Regions from separate parts of the Homo sapiens genome. Here region 1 is linked to region 2. The links are contacts of gene promoters, found by promoter capture Hi-C in human tissues and cell types (Jung and others, 2019). All regions are on one chromosome and are shown on one strand. Each heading gives the region's core, a stretch centred on a gene start or on the middle of the fragment in contact. The rest is flanking DNA. Distances are from core to core; before and after follow the strand shown.

The links. The method cuts DNA at HindIII sites, captures the fragments that hold promoters and counts their contacts. A contact is called where the count stands out against the background at its distance.
Region 1: a contact is called between a fragment that was not itself captured here and the fragment with the promoter of DSP in region 2, in 1 of the 25 tissues and cell types used here (ovary).

Annotation. Positions count from the first base shown.
Region 1 is chr6:7,581,539-7,587,018 of GRCh38, forward strand. DSP (desmoplakin) reads left to right here. Exons shown (of 24, transcript NM_004415.4): 23 at 1-31; 24 at 1,104-5,176. The coding sequence ends at 4,340. Among named protein-coding and RNA genes, the nearest start is that of SNRNP48, 5.9 kb to the right of the region's middle. The HindIII fragment of the contact is 7,043 bases long and covers 1-5,480 here.
Region 2 is chr6:7,537,834-7,542,920 of GRCh38, forward strand. It overlaps DSP (desmoplakin), which reads left to right and starts at 3,838. Exons shown (of 24, transcript NM_004415.4): 1 at 3,838-4,252. The coding sequence starts at 4,083. DSP-AS1 (DSP antisense RNA 1) reads right to left here. Exons shown (of 2, transcript NR_183331.1): 2 at 2,618-3,220. RefSeq lists an enhancer at 1-1,826. The HindIII fragment of the contact is 11,377 bases long and covers 1-5,087 here.

The DNA.
Region 1 (5,480 bases), core at 1,078-3,577, 42 kb after region 2:
AATTGAGAAATTCCAAAAGCAGGCTTTAGAGGTATTCACAAATACTTGATCACAGCTTCACTGTTTCTCAAATTATTCATCACATTATTATCTCATCTGAACTGTGCTCTTTCTGCTTAAATAGATGCTTATAGAAAATCTAATTTTTCTTTTTATTGCTCTACTACTTCCTGTCATAATCCAGGTAACTGCTTTAAAATAATTTCAATGCTGTGTGCCCTGCTGTTCTTTAATTGCATCAAATGCTGATCTCTGGGTAGCCTGTGTTTGGCCCTGCTTTTAAGAACACTAATACATGTATAACTTCCTCCGAATGTTCCATTCTACTTCTTAGAAGTTAGCTCTTATTTAGTGAGCTATGACATACATTTGTAATGAAAATTTTCTTAAATAGAAGCCATACTAAAGTGTTTCCCTATGCAATTTTTAAAACACTTTTTCTTTTGCCTGCTTAGATGATTTTTTTGCATGGATTATTTAGTGTTCGCTTTTGATCATGGCCCTAGTGTGTTTCCTTTTGTTTGACTTTCCTTCTCCTAACCCTTAATTTAAAAATAACTTATTTAACTTCTACAGACAATATTTGTGTGTGGCTGGGTTGGTGTGTGTGTGTGTGTGTGTGTGTGTGTATATCTATATATTATATATATAATTATATAATTACATAATATATATTTATCTATAATATATATTTTATATAATATATATCTTCATATATTTGTATTGCTTCATTAAGTATGTTCATCTAGCTGTAACAGGTGAGATGTAGGTGTAGCAGGTATGATAACCTGAAACAAAACTCCCCACATTTTTTCAAAGCATAATTATTGTTAAGAGTAAGACAGGTCTGCAACTTACAGTTCCTTCTATAGAAAAAAATAGTAAGTATGAAGCCATTTATTGAAGTGGCAACATATACAGAATTTTTCCCACAAATTTGTAAAATAACAAGCTCACAGTGTATCCAGGGACAATATAGAAAGAAAAAATAAGCAAGGCTTTTTTTTTTAAAGATAGATACACAAAAGAAAGTTAAGTCGTGATAGTAATATGATATGATTCAAAACATTATTTTTTCCCATTTCTTTCTTCTTCAATTCCAGGCATCTAATAGGATTCAGGAATCAAAGAATCAGTGTACTCAGGTGGTACAGGAAAGAGAGAGCCTTCTGGTGAAAATCAAAGTCCTGGAGCAAGACAAGGCAAGGCTGCAGAGGCTGGAGGATGAGCTGAATCGTGCAAAATCAACTCTAGAGGCAGAAACCAGGGTGAAACAGCGCCTGGAGTGTGAGAAACAGCAAATTCAGAATGACCTGAATCAGTGGAAGACTCAATATTCCCGCAAGGAGGAGGCTATTAGGAAGATAGAATCGGAAAGAGAAAAGAGTGAGAGAGAGAAGAACAGTCTTAGGAGTGAGATCGAAAGACTCCAAGCAGAGATCAAGAGAATTGAAGAGAGGTGCAGGCGTAAGCTGGAGGATTCTACCAGGGAGACACAGTCACAGTTAGAAACAGAACGCTCCCGATATCAGAGGGAGATTGATAAACTCAGACAGCGCCCATATGGGTCCCATCGAGAGACCCAGACTGAGTGTGAGTGGACCGTTGACACCTCCAAGCTGGTGTTTGATGGGCTGAGGAAGAAGGTGACAGCAATGCAGCTCTATGAGTGTCAGCTGATCGACAAAACAACCTTGGACAAACTATTGAAGGGGAAGAAGTCAGTGGAAGAAGTTGCTTCTGAAATCCAGCCATTCCTTCGGGGTGCAGGATCTATCGCTGGAGCATCTGCTTCTCCTAAGGAAAAATACTCTTTGGTAGAGGCCAAGAGAAAGAAATTAATCAGCCCAGAATCCACAGTCATGCTTCTGGAGGCCCAGGCAGCTACAGGTGGTATAATTGATCCCCATCGGAATGAGAAGCTGACTGTCGACAGTGCCATAGCTCGGGACCTCATTGACTTCGATGACCGTCAGCAGATATATGCAGCAGAAAAAGCTATCACTGGTTTTGATGATCCATTTTCAGGCAAGACAGTATCTGTTTCAGAAGCCATCAAGAAAAATTTGATTGATAGAGAAACCGGAATGCGCCTGCTGGAAGCCCAGATTGCTTCAGGGGGTGTAGTAGACCCTGTGAACAGTGTCTTTTTGCCAAAAGATGTCGCCTTGGCCCGGGGGCTGATTGATAGAGATTTGTATCGATCCCTGAATGATCCCCGAGATAGTCAGAAAAACTTTGTGGATCCAGTCACCAAAAAGAAGGTCAGTTACGTGCAGCTGAAGGAACGGTGCAGAATCGAACCACATACTGGTCTGCTCTTGCTTTCAGTACAGAAGAGAAGCATGTCCTTCCAAGGAATCAGACAACCTGTGACCGTCACTGAGCTAGTAGATTCTGGTATATTGAGACCGTCCACTGTCAATGAACTGGAATCTGGTCAGATTTCTTATGACGAGGTTGGTGAGAGAATTAAGGACTTCCTCCAGGGTTCAAGCTGCATAGCAGGCATATACAATGAGACCACAAAACAGAAGCTTGGCATTTATGAGGCCATGAAAATTGGCTTAGTCCGACCTGGTACTGCTCTGGAGTTGCTGGAAGCCCAAGCAGCTACTGGCTTTATAGTGGATCCTGTTAGCAACTTGAGGTTACCAGTGGAGGAAGCCTACAAGAGAGGTCTGGTGGGCATTGAGTTCAAAGAGAAGCTCCTGTCTGCAGAACGAGCTGTCACTGGGTATAATGATCCTGAAACAGGAAACATCATCTCTTTGTTCCAAGCCATGAATAAGGAACTCATCGAAAAGGGCCACGGTATTCGCTTATTAGAAGCACAGATCGCAACCGGGGGGATCATTGACCCAAAGGAGAGCCATCGTTTACCAGTTGACATAGCATATAAGAGGGGCTATTTCAATGAGGAACTCAGTGAGATTCTCTCAGATCCAAGTGATGATACCAAAGGATTTTTTGACCCCAACACTGAAGAAAATCTTACCTATCTGCAACTAAAAGAAAGATGCATTAAGGATGAGGAAACAGGGCTCTGTCTTCTGCCTCTGAAAGAAAAGAAGAAACAGGTGCAGACATCACAAAAGAATACCCTCAGGAAGCGTAGAGTGGTCATAGTTGACCCAGAAACCAATAAAGAAATGTCTGTTCAGGAGGCCTACAAGAAGGGCCTAATTGATTATGAAACCTTCAAAGAACTGTGTGAGCAGGAATGTGAATGGGAAGAAATAACCATCACGGGATCAGATGGCTCCACCAGGGTGGTCCTGGTAGATAGAAAGACAGGCAGTCAGTATGATATTCAAGATGCTATTGACAAGGGCCTTGTTGACAGGAAGTTCTTTGATCAGTACCGATCCGGCAGCCTCAGCCTCACTCAATTTGCTGACATGATCTCCTTGAAAAATGGTGTCGGCACCAGCAGCAGCATGGGCAGTGGTGTCAGCGATGATGTTTTTAGCAGCTCCCGACATGAATCAGTAAGTAAGATTTCCACCATATCCAGCGTCAGGAATTTAACCATAAGGAGCAGCTCTTTTTCAGACACCCTGGAAGAATCGAGCCCCATTGCAGCCATCTTTGACACAGAAAACCTGGAGAAAATCTCCATTACAGAAGGTATAGAGCGGGGCATCGTTGACAGCATCACGGGTCAGAGGCTTCTGGAGGCTCAGGCCTGCACAGGTGGCATCATCCACCCAACCACGGGCCAGAAGCTGTCACTTCAGGACGCAGTCTCCCAGGGTGTGATTGACCAAGACATGGCCACCAGGCTGAAGCCTGCTCAGAAAGCCTTCATAGGCTTCGAGGGTGTGAAGGGAAAGAAGAAGATGTCAGCAGCAGAGGCAGTGAAAGAAAAATGGCTCCCGTATGAGGCTGGCCAGCGCTTCCTGGAGTTCCAGTACCTCACGGGAGGTCTTGTTGACCCGGAAGTGCATGGGAGGATAAGCACCGAAGAAGCCATCCGGAAGGGGTTCATAGATGGCCGCGCCGCACAGAGGCTGCAAGACACCAGCAGCTATGCCAAAATCCTGACCTGCCCCAAAACCAAATTAAAAATATCCTATAAGGATGCCATAAATCGCTCCATGGTAGAAGATATCACTGGGCTGCGCCTTCTGGAAGCCGCCTCCGTGTCGTCCAAGGGCTTACCCAGCCCTTACAACATGTCTTCGGCTCCGGGGTCCCGCTCCGGCTCCCGCTCGGGATCTCGCTCCGGATCTCGCTCCGGGTCCCGCAGTGGGTCCCGGAGAGGAAGCTTTGACGCCACAGGGAATTCTTCCTACTCTTATTCCTACTCATTTAGCAGTAGTTCTATTGGGCACTAGTAGTCAGTTGGGAGTGGTTGCTATACCTTGACTTCATTTATATGAATTTCCACTTTATTAAATAATAGAAAAGAAAATCCCGGTGCTTGCAGTAGAGTGATAGGACATTCTATGCTTACAGAAAATATAGCCATGATTGAAATCAAATAGTAAAGGCTGTTCTGGCTTTTTATCTTCTTAGCTCATCTTAAATAAGCAGTACACTTGGATGCAGTGCGTCTGAAGTGCTAATCAGTTGTAACAATAGCACAAATCGAACTTAGGATTTGTTTCTTCTCTTCTGTGTTTCGATTTTTGATCAATTCTTTAATTTTGGAAGCCTATAATACAGTTTTCTATTCTTGGAGATAAAAATTAAATGGATCACTGATATTTTAGTCATTCTGCTTCTCATCTAAATATTTCCATATTCTGTATTAGGAGAAAATTACCCTCCCAGCACCAGCCCCCCTCTCAAACCCCCAACCCAAAACCAAGCATTTTGGAATGAGTCTCCTTTAGTTTCAGAGTGTGGATTGTATAACCCATATACTCTTCGATGTACTTGTTTGGTTTGGTATTAATTTGACTGTGCATGACAGCGGCAATCTTTTCTTTGGTCAAAGTTTTCTGTTTATTTTGCTTGTCATATTCGATGTACTTTAAGGTGTCTTTATGAAGTTTGCTATTCTGGCAATAAACTTTTAGACTTTTGAAGTGTTTGTGTTTTAATTTAATATGTTTATAAGCATGTATAAACATTTAGCATATTTTTATCATAGGTCTAAAAATATTTGTTTACTAAATACCTGTGAAGAAATACCATTAAAAAACTATTTGGTTCTGAATTCTTACTAGAAGGTGGTCTTTTGAAGTTAGTCCTTTCGGTACTTCTCAGATGCCTGTCATGTACCCGATGGAGTCCTTGGAAAGAAGGCCTGTGTAAAGAGGCCAGCCTGGAGGTCAATAACCTGTTCTAGTTTATTCTGGACATTGAGTACCAAGTAGCATTGGCAAAAGTCATCATCATAGCATTGAAAAAACATGAAGTTGCTAAGATGCTTTTTGGGTATCCTCAAAATAGATAGTGTTTCACTTTGTCCCGTAAGAGGAAAGAATTGTCCTGGAACCCATGAAAATGATTTCTGAAGAGTTCTTGGC
Region 2 (5,087 bases), core at 2,588-5,087:
ATTCTTCTTAATCTCACTGAAATCAAAGTGTCGTTTTCTTTTAAAAATCTGCTCTGAATATGACTGATTCGTCTTTCCTAACTGCAAGGTGATTTCTAAGGTCAGCCAGAGAGAAAGTTGCCTGTCAGTGATCTGTTTTATCAGTACAAGGGGAGCTATCTATGAGTGGCAGGGAAAAAATAGCTGACCTTAGGTCAGCCAGTGAAGACTCTGCCAGACTTTGGATTCTGATTTTTTAAACCAAGTTGTAAGAAAACAAGCTACTTTTAAACCTCTTTGCTGCGCTTTCAAAATTCTATAAATATACCTTCATTATAGCATACTTAATGTTGTATTGTAATTATTTGTTTTACTACTGCAGACTTTGATATCCTGCAGAAAAAGAGTCATGCTTTATTCATCTTCATGTGTCTAGCATTGAATCTGTTGTGTAACATGGTAGATGTTCAATAACTGCTTTCTAAATGAATGCATCTTAAATGTGTCCAAGAGGGAGGTTTACTGATTTACATGTGGGATAAAGACAGGAACATTAACGGTTAAAATTTCGCATCCAGCAAAGAACTTTTGGCTTAACAGGTGGTACCTTAAGCTTTATATGTTTCACAGTGTTCAAGAATGTTCACGTATTTTATCTCATTTGACCCTCACTGTGGATTTGGAAGGTTGGCAGAGCAAGTGTTATTTCCATTATACACATGAAGAAATTGAGCTCTTGCATAAGTAAATTGTAGCACTAAGATTATAACTATGGGCAAGTTATCCTCGCTCTTCACTGTGTGATGAGCCAACCTGGACAACTGATGTGTGTGTGTGTGTATGTGCATGTGTGTGGGTGTGTGTTGAGGTGGGGGGTGTTCCATCTGTCGGGCATGTCAATCTGTTTATTTTATCCTCTTATCTTTCTTTATCACCCTTAGAGAAAGATAAATGAAAGCCACTGTCTTCCTAGAGCAGGCATGTTTGGTAGCTGGAAGCCGTTCGTGTTCTTGGGGATGCCTGGAAAAGCCCAGGAAGCAGTAAGATGGGTGAGGAAGCAACGCAGCCAGAGGTGTGATTGGTGGCGTGGGCTCTTCGCCTCCTCCTCTGTTTTGCCTGCAGATTGAACAGTTTTGTGAGTCTGGGTGGTGTTTGGGTCTGTGTGGAGCCTGGTTCCTATGACCGTAAGGGGACCCTTGGCTAACAAGAGCTTTTGTTACCACTGGGGGGGTGGTTAATAGATATGTGGGTTTTTTTTAAAAGGATAATTCTACCGTGCAATTGTGTAGCCTCTTTATTACACATTAGGGAAGAATAATCCCTGAATTTTTTTTTTTTTTTTTTTTTTGAGACAGAGTCTTGCTCTGTTACCTGGGCTGCAGTGCAATGACACGATCTCTGCTCAATATAATCTCCACCTCCTGGATTCAAGTGATACTCGTGCCTTTGCCTCCCAAACAGCTAGGATTACAGGCGCCTGCCACCACACCCAGCTAATTTTTGTATTTTTAGTAGAGATGGGGTTTCATCATGTTGGCCAGGCTGGTCTCGAACTCCTGACCTCAAGTGATCCACCCGCCTCTGCCTCCCAAAGTGCTGGGATTACAGGCATGAGCCACCGCACGGGCCCCTGAATTTCTTAAATCAAAGTTTTACTATAATATATTTAAGGGCAGTGACTGGACCCTATTTATCTTTGTATGTTGCAGAGTATTTCCATATCCTAGGTTATAATTATTTGCTGAACAAATGAGATGCATAGAGGGAAAACATCCTAAATGAAATGTTGTACATTATGCACTGACATTTTCCCTCCATGCATGTCTTTCTCTCCTCCACCAATGGATATTATGGGCTGTTTGTGCAGAGGCTGACTTCCAGCCATTGATTCTGTTTGAGAAAAACCACCGTCTTGTCTATAGATCAGTGTTTGTACAGGTTGAGCATCCCTAATCTGAAAATCTGAAATCCAAAATGCTCCCAAATCCAAACTTTCTGAGCACTGACATGATGACCACAAGTGGCGAATTCCACACCTGACCTCATGTGATGACTTGCAGTCAAAGTGCAGTCAAAACTTTGTTTCATGCACAAAATTATCTAAAATATTGTATAAAATTACCTTCAGGCCATGTGTATAAGGCATATAGAAAACATAAATAAATTTCATGTTTAGGCTTGAGTTCCATCCCCAAAGATCTCTCGTTACGTCTATGCAACTATTGCAAAATCCAAGAAAATCCAGAATCCAAAATATTTCTGGTCCCAAGCATTTTGGATAAGGGGTACTCAATCTGTATAATCATTTAAACACTTGACCACTTTGGTTTTATTAAAGATTCGAGGAAATTGAGACTACGATGCAAATTATTGGTTGTGCTAACAGTGATAAACTTTTATCTCATTATATGTGTTTACTCCTTGAATTTAAGACGTTCAGCTGTAAAAAGAAAAAGAACAAGACATTTTGTCAAAAATTATGCCTAAAGGGTCAAGTTGTCATGAGAAGTGCTATAATACGACAAATTTTAGAAAGTCCCCCCCACTCCCTTTACAACATAAAAATGTAGTTTTTTATTTTTGTTTTCAGTTCATAAACATTTTGGAAACGCACTGTATCAGAAGGTAATTAGCGGCATTGTTTGGAAAGATGAAAAATTTATTAGAAAAGATCTTTAAATGGCTTTTACTAAAGCGTCATTTAACAATTTTTCATATTATAGAAACAGCTTTTCATGGATGGTGTGACTGGGTCTGTATCCAAACCCGGTTCGGTTCCTGGAGCCAACGGCGTAGTTAACACTCAGCCTCTTGCAGTTAACACTCAGCCTCTTAACTGGGAGTGGCCCTGGAGCAAGTCGCTGGAATGTTCAAGCTCCGCGTCACTCATCGGTACCAAGTTGATGATCTCTGCCTAGGGTTCTTCGCCACCCTCAGGCTCAAGTCCCAGGAGGCCTCCTCCGCTGACTTGGGTGAACAGCTCTGAGTTCCGGAGAGGGTTCGGTCTGCGGAGAAGCGCGCGAGAGACAAGCATCCTCAAGGTTCTGGTACAAAATTTGGAAAATGGACCTGGCGTTGAAATCTTTACTCCTCGTTTAAAAAGACCATCGAAAGGGAAAAAATAAAAGAAATTGCAGTTTATATTTTTGTTATCCCATGAAAAATTAGCTGCAGTGTTTTCCTCTTCATGCCAAAGAGATTAATATTTACGGTGAAGACTTTTCCAGGAAGTCGTGGTTTTCTGTAAAAAAAGGTTTTACACATCAGAAATCGGACTTCTGGGGCAATTTCCTGAATTCCTGGAATAAAACAAAACAAAAAAAAGCCCCCAAACAAAACTCTATCATCTAAAGCGTTCCCTCCTCACTGTGGTCCTAGTCAATGCGTGGTAGGTAGCGTTTCCAGTGATCAACAAAAGTAAATATTTGACCAGTAAGTCTCCAATCGAGAGGCCCCTCCATTCCAGCTATTTCCGCCCGGGGACCGAGGAAATCCTCAAAAGCCGGGCCACGCATTCCCAGCCCGAGAGGCCCCAGCGCAGAGCGCAGCAGCCCCCGCGAGCGCAGGTCCTCCCCGCGGTGGCTTCGCCCAGGGCGCTTGGGTCTCGGGGACCCCGCCCCCGCCCCGCCCGGTGTTACTCAGGCCTCGGTGGCGCAGGGCGGAGTCGCGGGCGGCGGGCGCAGGTGGGGAGGGGCGGCCGGAGCGCGTCGGTGACACCCGCGGGGGGGCGGGGAAGGCGCGGCGGCCGCACCCCACCCTGGGAAGAAACCGGCCAGGTGTGGCCTAGGCGCCCAGTGCCAGCGGGGAGGAGACTCGCTCCGCCGCCGACCAACACCAACACCCAGCTCCGACGCAGCTCCTCTGCGCCCTTGCCGCCCTCCGAGCCACAGCTTTCCTCCCGCTCCTGCCCCCGGCCCGTCGCCGTCTCCGCGCTCGCAGCGGCCTCGGGAGGGCCCAGGTAGCGAGCAGCGACCTCGCGAGCCTTCCGCACTCCCGCCCGGTTCCCCGGCCGTCCGCCTATCCTTGGCCCCCTCCGCTTTCTCCGCGCCGGCCCGCCTCGCTTATGCCTCGGCGCTGAGCCGCTCTCCCGATTGCCCGCCGACATGAGCTGCAACGGAGGCTCCCACCCGCGGATCAACACTCTGGGCCGCATGATCCGCGCCGAGTCTGGCCCGGACCTGCGCTACGAGGTGACCAGCGGCGGCGGGGGCACCAGCAGGATGTACTATTCTCGGCGCGGCGTGATCACCGACCAGAACTCGGACGGCTACTGGTGGGTACCTGCCCGGAGAGCGCGGGCTGCGGGGCTCGCGGGACAGGGAGGGACCGTCCTCCTCTGGACGACTGGGAGACTCGGGTCCCGAAGGTGGAAAGGTTTTTTTGCCCCAGGTCCCGAAAGAACTTCCCGGCCGCGCTGGGAGCAGGACCGGGTGTCCTGACGCGTGCGGGGACAGGTTGGCCCCTGTCCTGCGAACAGGGACTCGGTCGTACCTTTCTCCCCTCCCGCGAGCCCGGGCGGGTGGTCAGAGGGGGCGTCGGGCCCGCGCGGGGCTGTCCCCTGCCTGCTGGACACGGCTGCAGCCGCCTTTGTCCCAGCCCGCGAATGGGAGGTCAGGCGAGGTGGGGCTGCGACCACAAAACCCAACCTCTCCAACCGTAATCAAAGTAAAAGAGGAAAGGAGCGGGGCCCCGGTCCTGTCTGGTGGCCGAGTGGTGCTCGGGGCTCCGCAGTCTCTACCGGCTCACCCCCAATCCCCAGTAACCCCGAGACCACGACTGCAACGACTCCTGGACTCCTCGGCCACCCAAGGACGTTTGTATCAAGGCTGCGCGTCCCGGCGGCGCGGGGTCCTGTCCCGAGGAGGCGCTTCGGCTTCCCCTGTCCGGGAAACGAAACTTCCCCGCCGGGGCGGCTGCCGGGCCCGGGTCTCGAAGTTCGGCCGGGACGTGCCTGTTACCTTCGGTCGTCCGCGCCGCAGCCCCCGCGGGCGAGCGCACCTGGGGCCCTGCCTCTGAGCCTTTTGTTTCCTCCTTTTTAAAAACACCGGATGAAAGACCCCAGTGTGCCTTGGATCGCAGAGCGCCGGCCGCATGTCTGCTTTGATCCA